2 separate regions of the Homo sapiens genome follow, and region 1 is linked to region 2. The links are contacts of gene promoters, found by promoter capture Hi-C in blood cells and fetal thymus (Javierre and others, 2016). All regions are on one chromosome and are shown on one strand. The core of a region is centred on a gene start or on the middle of the fragment in contact, and the rest is flanking DNA. Distances in the headings are between cores, read along the strand shown.

Region 1 (4,479 bases), core at 1,341-3,840, 3.1 Mb after region 2:
CTTACTAATAACTCTGGAATTCTGGACAAACTTATTTAAATTTACTAAGTTTCTGTTTCCTTATCTGTGAAATAGGAATAACGAAGATGCCTACTTCATAGTTACTGAAAGGATTCAATGAACTAATAAAAGTAAAAAACTCATGACCAGTCAGGTGGTTTTCTTTTTCCAGTCTACTATTTTAGAATGTTTGAATTTTCTGAGTTTTGATCCCTTTGATACATGATTAGATGATAATAATAATAAAGGCAAAGTATTCTACAGAATAATGGCTATTAAACTACTAGGTATTTAAAAGTAAAAGCACTTTTCTGAAGCGCCTATATATATTTTATATTATATATATATAAATCATCTCACAAATTAAACTCTAATACATTGTGTTAACTGCACTAAATGTGCCAACAAGCATCCAAATGATTCAACATAGTGGAGCACAACATAATAGATTTCCCCAACTTCTGCTATCCCCACAAAGCTAGGTAAATTGAGCAGTAGGCGAGGCAAGTGGTAAATCTTAAAAAGATTCTGGTGTCTGGTGTGGTTTTAAGGTATGCACAAACAGACAGACTTAAGGTCAGGCCCCAAATGCTACTTAATAAATGTGTGACCCTGGACAAATTACTTAATGTTCTAAACCTTGCTAATAAAGGAATATTTATCTGTTTTAGTTCCAAGACAGTTAAAGGAACTAAATGAGAAAAATCTAGGAAAACTGCCTAACAGATCCTCTCTCTACGTATTTTAAGCAGAAATAACTTGAGTGAACTTTTAAAAACATTAATCACCATGGATTTTTAAATTCCAGGATTCAAGTACTGGAGTAATAAGTTGTATTATACAAATCAGACAGACCATCAAAAGGGTTCAAGAACAGAATGTAGCACAGTCGACCCACCTCCCGTCATGAGGCAGACTGCTCAAGTTTCATTCAGACCACTTACCAGCATGGAAACCACCCCCATACTTACCATGGCCTCTGCCTCTTCTTTAGGAGCAGCTCTCTTTAACTTCACTGGAGTAGTTCCAACAGGGGACAATGGTGGCGACTTCACAGGGCCTGAAGGACTTTTCCTATGCGTTAAGTCATGGTTCTGTTTAGCGTCATTATTATTGTGTTCCGTTTTATTGTTCACAGGCAAATTGGAAGACAAAATTAGGGGTGAAACACTCGAAGAGGAATTTGATAATTTTCTAAAGGCATTACTGGTAAAGCTTGCCTGCGGGGGAGGCTTCAGTCGATCATTATCTCCATTCTCTGTCTTTTTCACTTTTATGCTTGTACTTGTTGAACTTCCATCAAATACGATGAGGGGTCTTTTCCTTAACCCATCTACAGTGCTACTCCTGAAATCAAAGAGATGCACTCTTGAAAAATACCATCTGGAACGGCAAACCAGTTCACTGGGATTCAAGTTAAAATAAGCAGTAAACAAAAAGATTTTCTGATAAGACTAATCTGAGACTATTAAAAATGAAATTTTCTATGTTCATTCTAAATGAAAGAATTTCCTAGTGTTTTATTTCAAAGTTTAAAATATTTATGTACAAGAAATTCAAAGTTAGCTTTCATGTATACACAACATGCAGCTATTTTTAAAACATCAATTAACCATCTAGCCCTGGAACTTAAAATGAGATTTCCTAGTTAAAAAACAAACACCAGCTTATTGATAGGGTTATCTTAACCATGTAATCAGTTATTATTTTAAAAGGATGATAAACTATAAAACTATACCAAGACTACCACAGCAGCAATCTACAAATGGGGCACAGCATTCTACTCCATTCAGCAAAGGTCTCTAAAGCCAAGACATTTTCTAAACTAATCGTAACTGGACATTTGTACAAGTTCAATTGTAAAATCTGGCAAGTGTCTCATACTTACCTTCTGGAAATCTAATTTCCACTCTTAATAGTAAAGGTTAATAAGGAAAGCATTCATTTGTTTATTACTTATTATACCTCAGATAATATCTATATCACCTATCTCACAGATGAATTGAAAAAAAATTTATTTTTGAGACGGAGTTGCGCTCTTGTTGCCCAGGGTGGCGTGCGATGGCGCGATCTCGGCTCACTGCAACCTCTGCCTCCCAGGTTCAAGTGACTCTCCTGCCTCAGCCTCCCGAATAGCTGGGATACAGGTGCATGCCACAGTGCCCAGCTAATTTTTGTATTTTTAGTAGAGACGGGGTTTCACCATGTTGGCCAGGCTGGTCTTGAACTCCTGACCTCAGGGTAATCCGCCCGCCTCCCAACATGCTGGGATTACAGGCGTGAGCCACTGCTCTTGGCCCAAAAAAAAACCCTTTTAATTAAACATGTTAAAAGAATCTGAGATAGCCAGTTATCAGGAAGAACATTTTAGCCCTGCCACTCAAAGTGTGATCCAGGGACCAGCAGCACCAGCACAGCAACGTCAGTCAGTATCTTAGGAGCTTGTAAGAAATGGAGAATCTGGGGCATCAACCTGAATACATCAGAACTCACCTTTTAACCAGATTTCTAGCAGTTGGCCAAACTCAACAATTCTTGGGTCATCACTGAACATCATTTGGTAGAAAATGAGAAGTAAGCTCACTGTATACCCACTGCCTTTGTAGAAGGGAAACAGGGACTGAGAGCAGGGTTTGACAGCTTGCTTAATCTAAGATTCAAGAAGCACATTAAAGTTTGAGAAGCACAGGGCTATGTTGCTATGGACCTGGTCCTAGCTCTGTGTGACCTTGGGCATGTTACAGCACTTCTCAGGATCTCAGTTCCTCCACAGATAAAATAATAAGTAGTTCAACAATACAAGATGATCTCTTGGATCCTTCCAGTTTTAATGCTCTGATTCAATTGTGTATTTAAAAAATAGAGTCAAAGATCCTTTCCAAAATGATTTTGGGGGACTAATCAAGACAGTTGTACAAAGATTGCTTCAAAGGAAAGTATGACTGGCACATAAAGTTTTGCTTACTAGAACAATATGCCTGAATGTGCTGATCAAGAGGAAAATACTGGCTGAATAACAGCAAAAGTAAATTAAAAGCCATATGCAGTGTAACCCATATTTATGAAAGTTAACACCACTACATAGTCTGTACTAGTAAGTAAAGTAACCATCAAGCTAAAATGGTCAATCTAAAATGCATTCTTGATCAAAGGTCAGACTGTGTGTGTATTTTCCAAAAGACAATGAGCAGACATGTATTCTTCGACTATTCTTCATAATTGGAGAATAATCTCAATCATTAAATTTTTCTTTGTAAAACAGAGATTAAAACTCAGAGGAACATACTCCCCTTTACCCCTACCCTCCTACTCTGTCTTCTCTCACTGCTTCTAGTGGATTGCCTATGACGGTGCCTTACAAATAGAAGGCCCTAAAAAAAAATTAATTGATCAATAGTATCCACTTGAGATATAATAGACACAGAAGAGTTCACTTAAGGATCTTAGGACACTTTGTACTTATTAACCAATCAACAACACTGATTAATCAAATGTAATTTTCTTTAAAAAAGAAAAAATCACTTGCTTGTGGTTTTATAAAACTGTTTTTGAAATTAAATAATTTTAAATAGCATAACTTAAGCTAGTTAACAGGCCCTTCATTTGTGTATTATTCAAAGACCTTAGAGTTTTACCTGACTTGACTTTTTCCTCAAAATTCAGGAAATCCTATTGGCTCTATCTTCAAAATACATGCATGCTCCAACCCACCAAATTTACTATTGTAGTCAAAGCTGCTGCCATCTATTGCCTGGATTACAGTACAGGCTTCTAATTTGTTTCCCTGCTTCCAGTCTTATACACACCGCTTCCCCTCCCCACACACCTTAAATCACTTCTTAGGACAGCAGCCAGAGTCATCTTGTCAAAATGTACATCTAATGATGTCACCACTCTGCTTAAAACCTTCTAGTGGCTTCTCATCTGAGTACAGCCAAAGTCCTTACAATGACTTACAAAGCTTTACATGATCTGACAATCTCTCCCGTTTGCCCCCAGTACAACTCGTTCTTCCTACTTCTCCATCCAGCCCTGATAGCTGCTTTGTTGTTCCTGGTATATGATGGGCACATTCCAGATCCAGCCTCTTGTATTCTGCCTGGAATCCTAGCTTGTTTTCTTCTTCCTACAGGTCTCTCTACTAAAATGTCATTTTTCACTAAGATCTTCCTGGATAATTTACCAAAAATTGTAATCTTTCTCCCTGGCCTTTATTACTATATAACAATACCATATTTTAACTGTTGTTATGTTTCTCCCATCAAAAATATGAGCAGGGAATTTTGTCAGTTTTATTCACTGCTATACGCACAGTGCCTGGTGCTCAATAGATAGTCATTGAGTAAATAAATTTTTTACTTAAGTTTATCTCAGGAAAAATCAATAACTTATATATAACTTTAGTTATATAAGATAAATTGAAAGCTAGAACCACCAAAAAGTACCTTTTAGTCTCATTTTTAATCTCATGTTGTTCTC
Region 2 (4,677 bases), core at 1,974-4,473:
ATCTGAGTTCTTCAATTTCTTTCTCCAATTCTAAACAATTAAAAAATAAAGGACTCCGGTTCAGAAATAAAGAACATAATTACTGGGAAACTGATAAGTACATTCTCACAAAACCCCCCATAAATCTGCAAATTAGAATATATTTAAGCAGAATAGTATGATTAATCTCTGCACTCATCACTATACTTCAGCATTACATGGCCAATTTTGTTTCCTCCCAACCTGTACTCACTTCCTCCTTCACTGCTTTTCTTATCCATCTGATAATTTTCAAGCATACCCCAGACATCATATTATTTCACCTGTAAGTACATCTTACTGTATAACCTTAAAGCAACAATCACATATTAAGAATAAACGTTATCGAGAACAGCCTGGCCAACATGGTGAAACCTCGTCTCTACTAAAAATACAAAAATTAGCCAGGCATGGTGGTGGGTGCCTGCAGTCCCAGTTACTCGGGAGGCTGAGGCAGGAGAATCGCTTGAACCCGGGAAGGGGAGGTTGCAGTAAGCCGAGATTGCGCCACTGCACTCCAGCCTGGCCAAGAAGAGCGAGACTCCGTCTTGAAAAAAAAAAAAAAAAAAGAGAGAGAGAGAGAAAAGAAACGTTAATCTAAGTGTTTAATTAGCAAATGCCTAGATCTCAGGCCTAGAACTTCTTTCCAAATAAATTATTCTCTTCATTGCAAGGTGATCCAAACTCCCAAGACATACTTTTATCTTTTCTAATAGAAAATAAGTCTTAGCTTTTAGGCTAAGCAGTTAATATTTATAAGTCACTGGAAATTCAAGAGCTCATGTACATATACTAAAAAAAAAAGGTGCTAAGATCTTTTTCCTTCTGGAATAAAAAGAAAACTGAATAGGGAATCAATCAACTTCAGCAGGTAAACATACTTCAATATCTGTAAATGGAAGTCTTTTATTATTTTAATTGAGGAAGCTTTCCATCTCTTTGGGCTTATCTTCTGTCTCTAACATTTCAACTGACTTCTCTTGAAAAAACACTTTACTCAGAACTCAGAAGAATCTAAAGTCTACATGAAGGAAAAACACACTTAACTTACACAAACTTTAAAAATCCTCCTCCCTGACTTTAACAACTCAAAAGTCACTGTGGTTTAGAGATGTGGGAATAATTTAGAAATCAGAGGTAAATTTTTAGAATGTTAAATAACAGATTCTACTACACTAAGGTGTACTTGGAATCACTGGAAAACAAACAAAAACAAGCCAATGCATTATTTTAAAAACTACCATTTTAAACCACGATTAAAGAGACTGTGATCAAGATGAGTATTTTCAACCCAATACCTGTACACCTTGATTTAGCTTTCTGTATTAGCATCATCTGTTTCTTGGCAAACTTGATGAGGTCTTCTTTGGGCAATGTTTCCAGCTGAAAGATGTGGTCATGTTACCAACTTGTTATAACTCATGTTTCTAGTATACCACAAAAAAGAAACAATGTCTGCTAGAAAACAAAAACATTCTACAGAATAAATCTTTATGCCAACCGCATACTTTGTTCCACATTTTTTTTTTGAGACAGAGTCTCGCTCTATTGCCCAGGCCGGAGTGCATGACACGATCTTGGCTCACTTGTAACCTCTGCCTCCCAAGTTCAAGCAATTCTCCTGTCTCAGCCTCCCAAATAGCTGGGATCATAGGCGCCCGCTACCACGTCCGGCTAATTTTTGTATTTTTAGTAGAGACGGGGTTTCACCATGTTGGCCAGGCTGGTCTCAAACTCCTGACCGCAGGTGATCTGCCCGCCTCGGCCTCCCAAAGTGTTGGGATTACAGGCGTGACCCACCGCGCCCGGCCACATTTTTTAAAATCAGCAAATGCAACGTCAATTCTGTAATTGCTATGCAACTACTAAAAATTAGTTATGCAACTACTATGAAACGTAAAAACCAGGCCATATCCTCTTATAGCTAATGTTACAGGTTGACATTGCTAGCTTTTGATTTAATTGTAAAATCAGTAGGTTGGAGCTAATGCTACTTAAAATTCCTTGGAGCTGTAAAATTATTTCATTCTATTCAAGGCTGCAAGTCTTTGGTCACAAGAAAATTTACGCATAATTACAGCAGCAAGATGAACCGGGTAACATTCAGGCTTTAATTAAAAAATTGAGCTTTACCACTTGAGAAAATTGCTTAAGCCTGTGGTCTCAGGTTTCTCATCTGTAAAAGGAGGGTAACAACAGTACCTATCTCATGGTTATCATGAAGCTTAAACGAAGGAACTGAGTGGTTAGGCAAGCGCCAGAAATTTAGCATGCACACAATAAACCTTAGCAATAAACCACTATCATTTAGAATGATTGAATGTTAAACATTGTACAGGGCCATAAAACTGGACTAATTAAACTCTTTGGCAATGTAGAAACTGGAGCCCACAGATCAGAATCCCTTGATTCCTACCCTATGTCACTGCTCCTTCCACTACACCACTATATAAACCTTCTTAGACTGCTTTATGTTCGAAAAATAGCAGGATCTCCCAGCAGTGCTAACCAGGAGCAGGAAGCAAACAAAAAGTCTTTCTATATCGGGGTGGGCGGGGGAGAAACAGGAAATGGGCGATTGCGCACACTAAAATTGAGATCCCTTGGAGCAAGGCTATTAAAAAAAAAAAAATCAGCGCCCCCCCCTTCCCCATGCCAAAGTTTTCCAATTCATCACCCTTCCACTCTTCAGGAAGCCCGCTATTCAAGTATTCTCTTCACCTTAGATTTCCCGGTCCCAGGGGTAGCTGGTGAAGCCACCCCATCTTGAACAAGATCCTGCAAAACAAAATCAAACCCAGGTGTCAGAAGAACTCTTTTCCTAATTCCACACGGAACGCGTAGAACCCTTACAGGGAAAAACCTTCTATGGAATCAAGTGGTGGAAAGCCTCGTGAGACAGAGAATGAGGGCGGACGGAGGCGGTCGCTGTGGCAATTCGTACACAAACGGGCTCTACGGGGCAGGTAACCCCCAGGGATAGAGTTTACGAAAGATGGGGAGGCGACAGCAGCGCGGGCTTCGGGACACCAAGAGGGAGACTACCGCGCCCTCCCATCGGGCCCACTCCCACATCCCAAATCGCGGCGCGGAAGGCTTGATGGGAGGCAGTGGGCCCGACCTGAGTTACCTCCATCTCCGCCAGCCCGCCGCCGGCCCGCAACCAGCCGCCGCCACCGCTGCACTTCTGTTTGCGCCAGCCTCTGACGTAGGCTCTACTGCAGGTCAAAGGTCGCGCTCTCCGGGCGGCCCGCCCCCCACGTCTCCATAGCTACAGCTCGGCAGCACTTCCGCTTCCGTGTCTGCGTCCGGGAGAAGGTTCCCCGTACGGCGCTAAGGGCGGAGTCCGTCTAGACGTTCTACCTGGGGCTCGACCCCTGGGCCTGCAGGTCACGGAGTAGGTGTGGGTCCCGCCACTGCCGGTTATTGGCATGGGAAGGCGGGCCGATTACCCCTTGGGGCCTCGGGCCTCGGTTTCCACGTCTGTAAAATCTTGTGAGAGTGAGGAACATTGGATTGCAGGACAGGTCTCTCAGTCCTCCAAAGGTGTCCGCTAGCCTGCGAGTGCCTGCGGGACCCACAGCTGGTTCCGGGGGGCTCCTTAGGCATTTGTGGCCAGCATGGTGCCCGGGAGCTCCGTGACTCACAGGTCAGGGATGCGGTAGAGGGCTTCCCTGAGGAGGCATTTCTTGACTCTGGAGGCTGTGAGGAGGTCCCTGGACAGCTCTGCCCTGCAGCCGCCCGGTACTGATGGTGATGTGGTGGAGGCAAGATAGTCGGCCAGGGAACTGGGCAGCCGTGGGAGGAGACTCTGTAGAGTAGGGGGCCCGAGGCCACCCTTTCCCGAAGGGCACGCCAGAGAATCTGTGGTCGAATCCCAGAGCTGCTGCTGTGTCCTGATTGGCGGTCCAGTGCTCTGAGAGCCTTTCTGTTAACTGCTGAAGTGGTTTGCTGCGCTTTCACCTTCCCATTAATGTTTTCCATACACTCCCATAACTAAGGTAACCTGAAGATAACCTAGTTTCCTGTAGTTTAAATGGTCAAAAGGTTGAAGAGGCAGCACACAGTATGTATCGAGTAAATGGTAGCTGATTATTACTAGGTAAAAGAAGTGTTATAAACGAGAAAGAACAGCTATTGTGGACATCTACTCTTTGTCTTTGACAGTGTGTATCACCTATGGTGTTTGTAGGATTGGTTCAGGGGTGGTGTGTGACCTAAGATGTACAGTCTCCACGTACAGTAACACACGTGTGTGTGTACACGTGTGTGTGTACACGTGTGTGTGTGCACGTGTGTGTGTGCACGTGTGCGCGCACGTGTGTGTGCACGTGTGTGTACACACATATATGCACACACATGTATACACACACACACACACAATCCCCAAGTATACATTGTTATTAATGGTCCAGATTAATGCCATTCAAAGTAGTTCCCCAAGTTAAGAGCAACTTACGGTAGACTCCTATTTCAATTAATAACTTGAAAAAATCACTTGCAATAAAATAGCAGGTTAACTAGATACTACACACATTCCAATCCTGTAAAAGTTTCTCAGAGAAACACTGTTAGATATAGTTACATTCCAGGAGTTTGGCTACATCAATAGCTACAGAAGAGTTGATGTTCTCACAGTAGAACTCTCTTTTTCTCATA

The links. The method cuts DNA at HindIII sites, captures the fragments that hold promoters and counts their contacts. A CHiCAGO score of 5 or more calls a contact.
Region 1: a fragment that was not itself captured here is called in contact with the fragment with the promoter of GCC2 in region 2 in 2 of 17 cell types (total B cells and neutrophils); the score reaches 7.5 in total B cells.

The regions. Positions count from the first base shown.
Region 1 is chr2:105,339,716-105,344,194 of GRCh38, reverse strand. It overlaps C2orf49 (chromosome 2 open reading frame 49), which reads right to left. Exons shown (of 4, transcript NM_024093.3): 2 at 4,446-4,479; 3 at 972-1,347. Among named protein-coding and RNA genes, the nearest start is that of C2orf49, 4.4 kb to the right of the region's middle. The HindIII fragment of the contact is 2,746 bases long and covers 1,218-3,963 here.
Region 2 is chr2:108,447,752-108,452,428 of GRCh38, reverse strand. It overlaps GCC2 (GRIP and coiled-coil domain containing 2), which reads right to left and starts at 3,223. Exons shown (of 23, transcript NM_181453.4): 1 at 3,149-3,223; 2 at 2,740-2,796; 3 at 1,317-1,401; 4 at 1-30. The coding sequence starts at 3,154. RefSeq lists enhancers at 1,232-1,732, 1,733-2,233, 2,319-3,300, 3,137-3,396, 3,301-4,283. The HindIII fragment of the contact is 5,578 bases long and covers 2,245-4,677 here.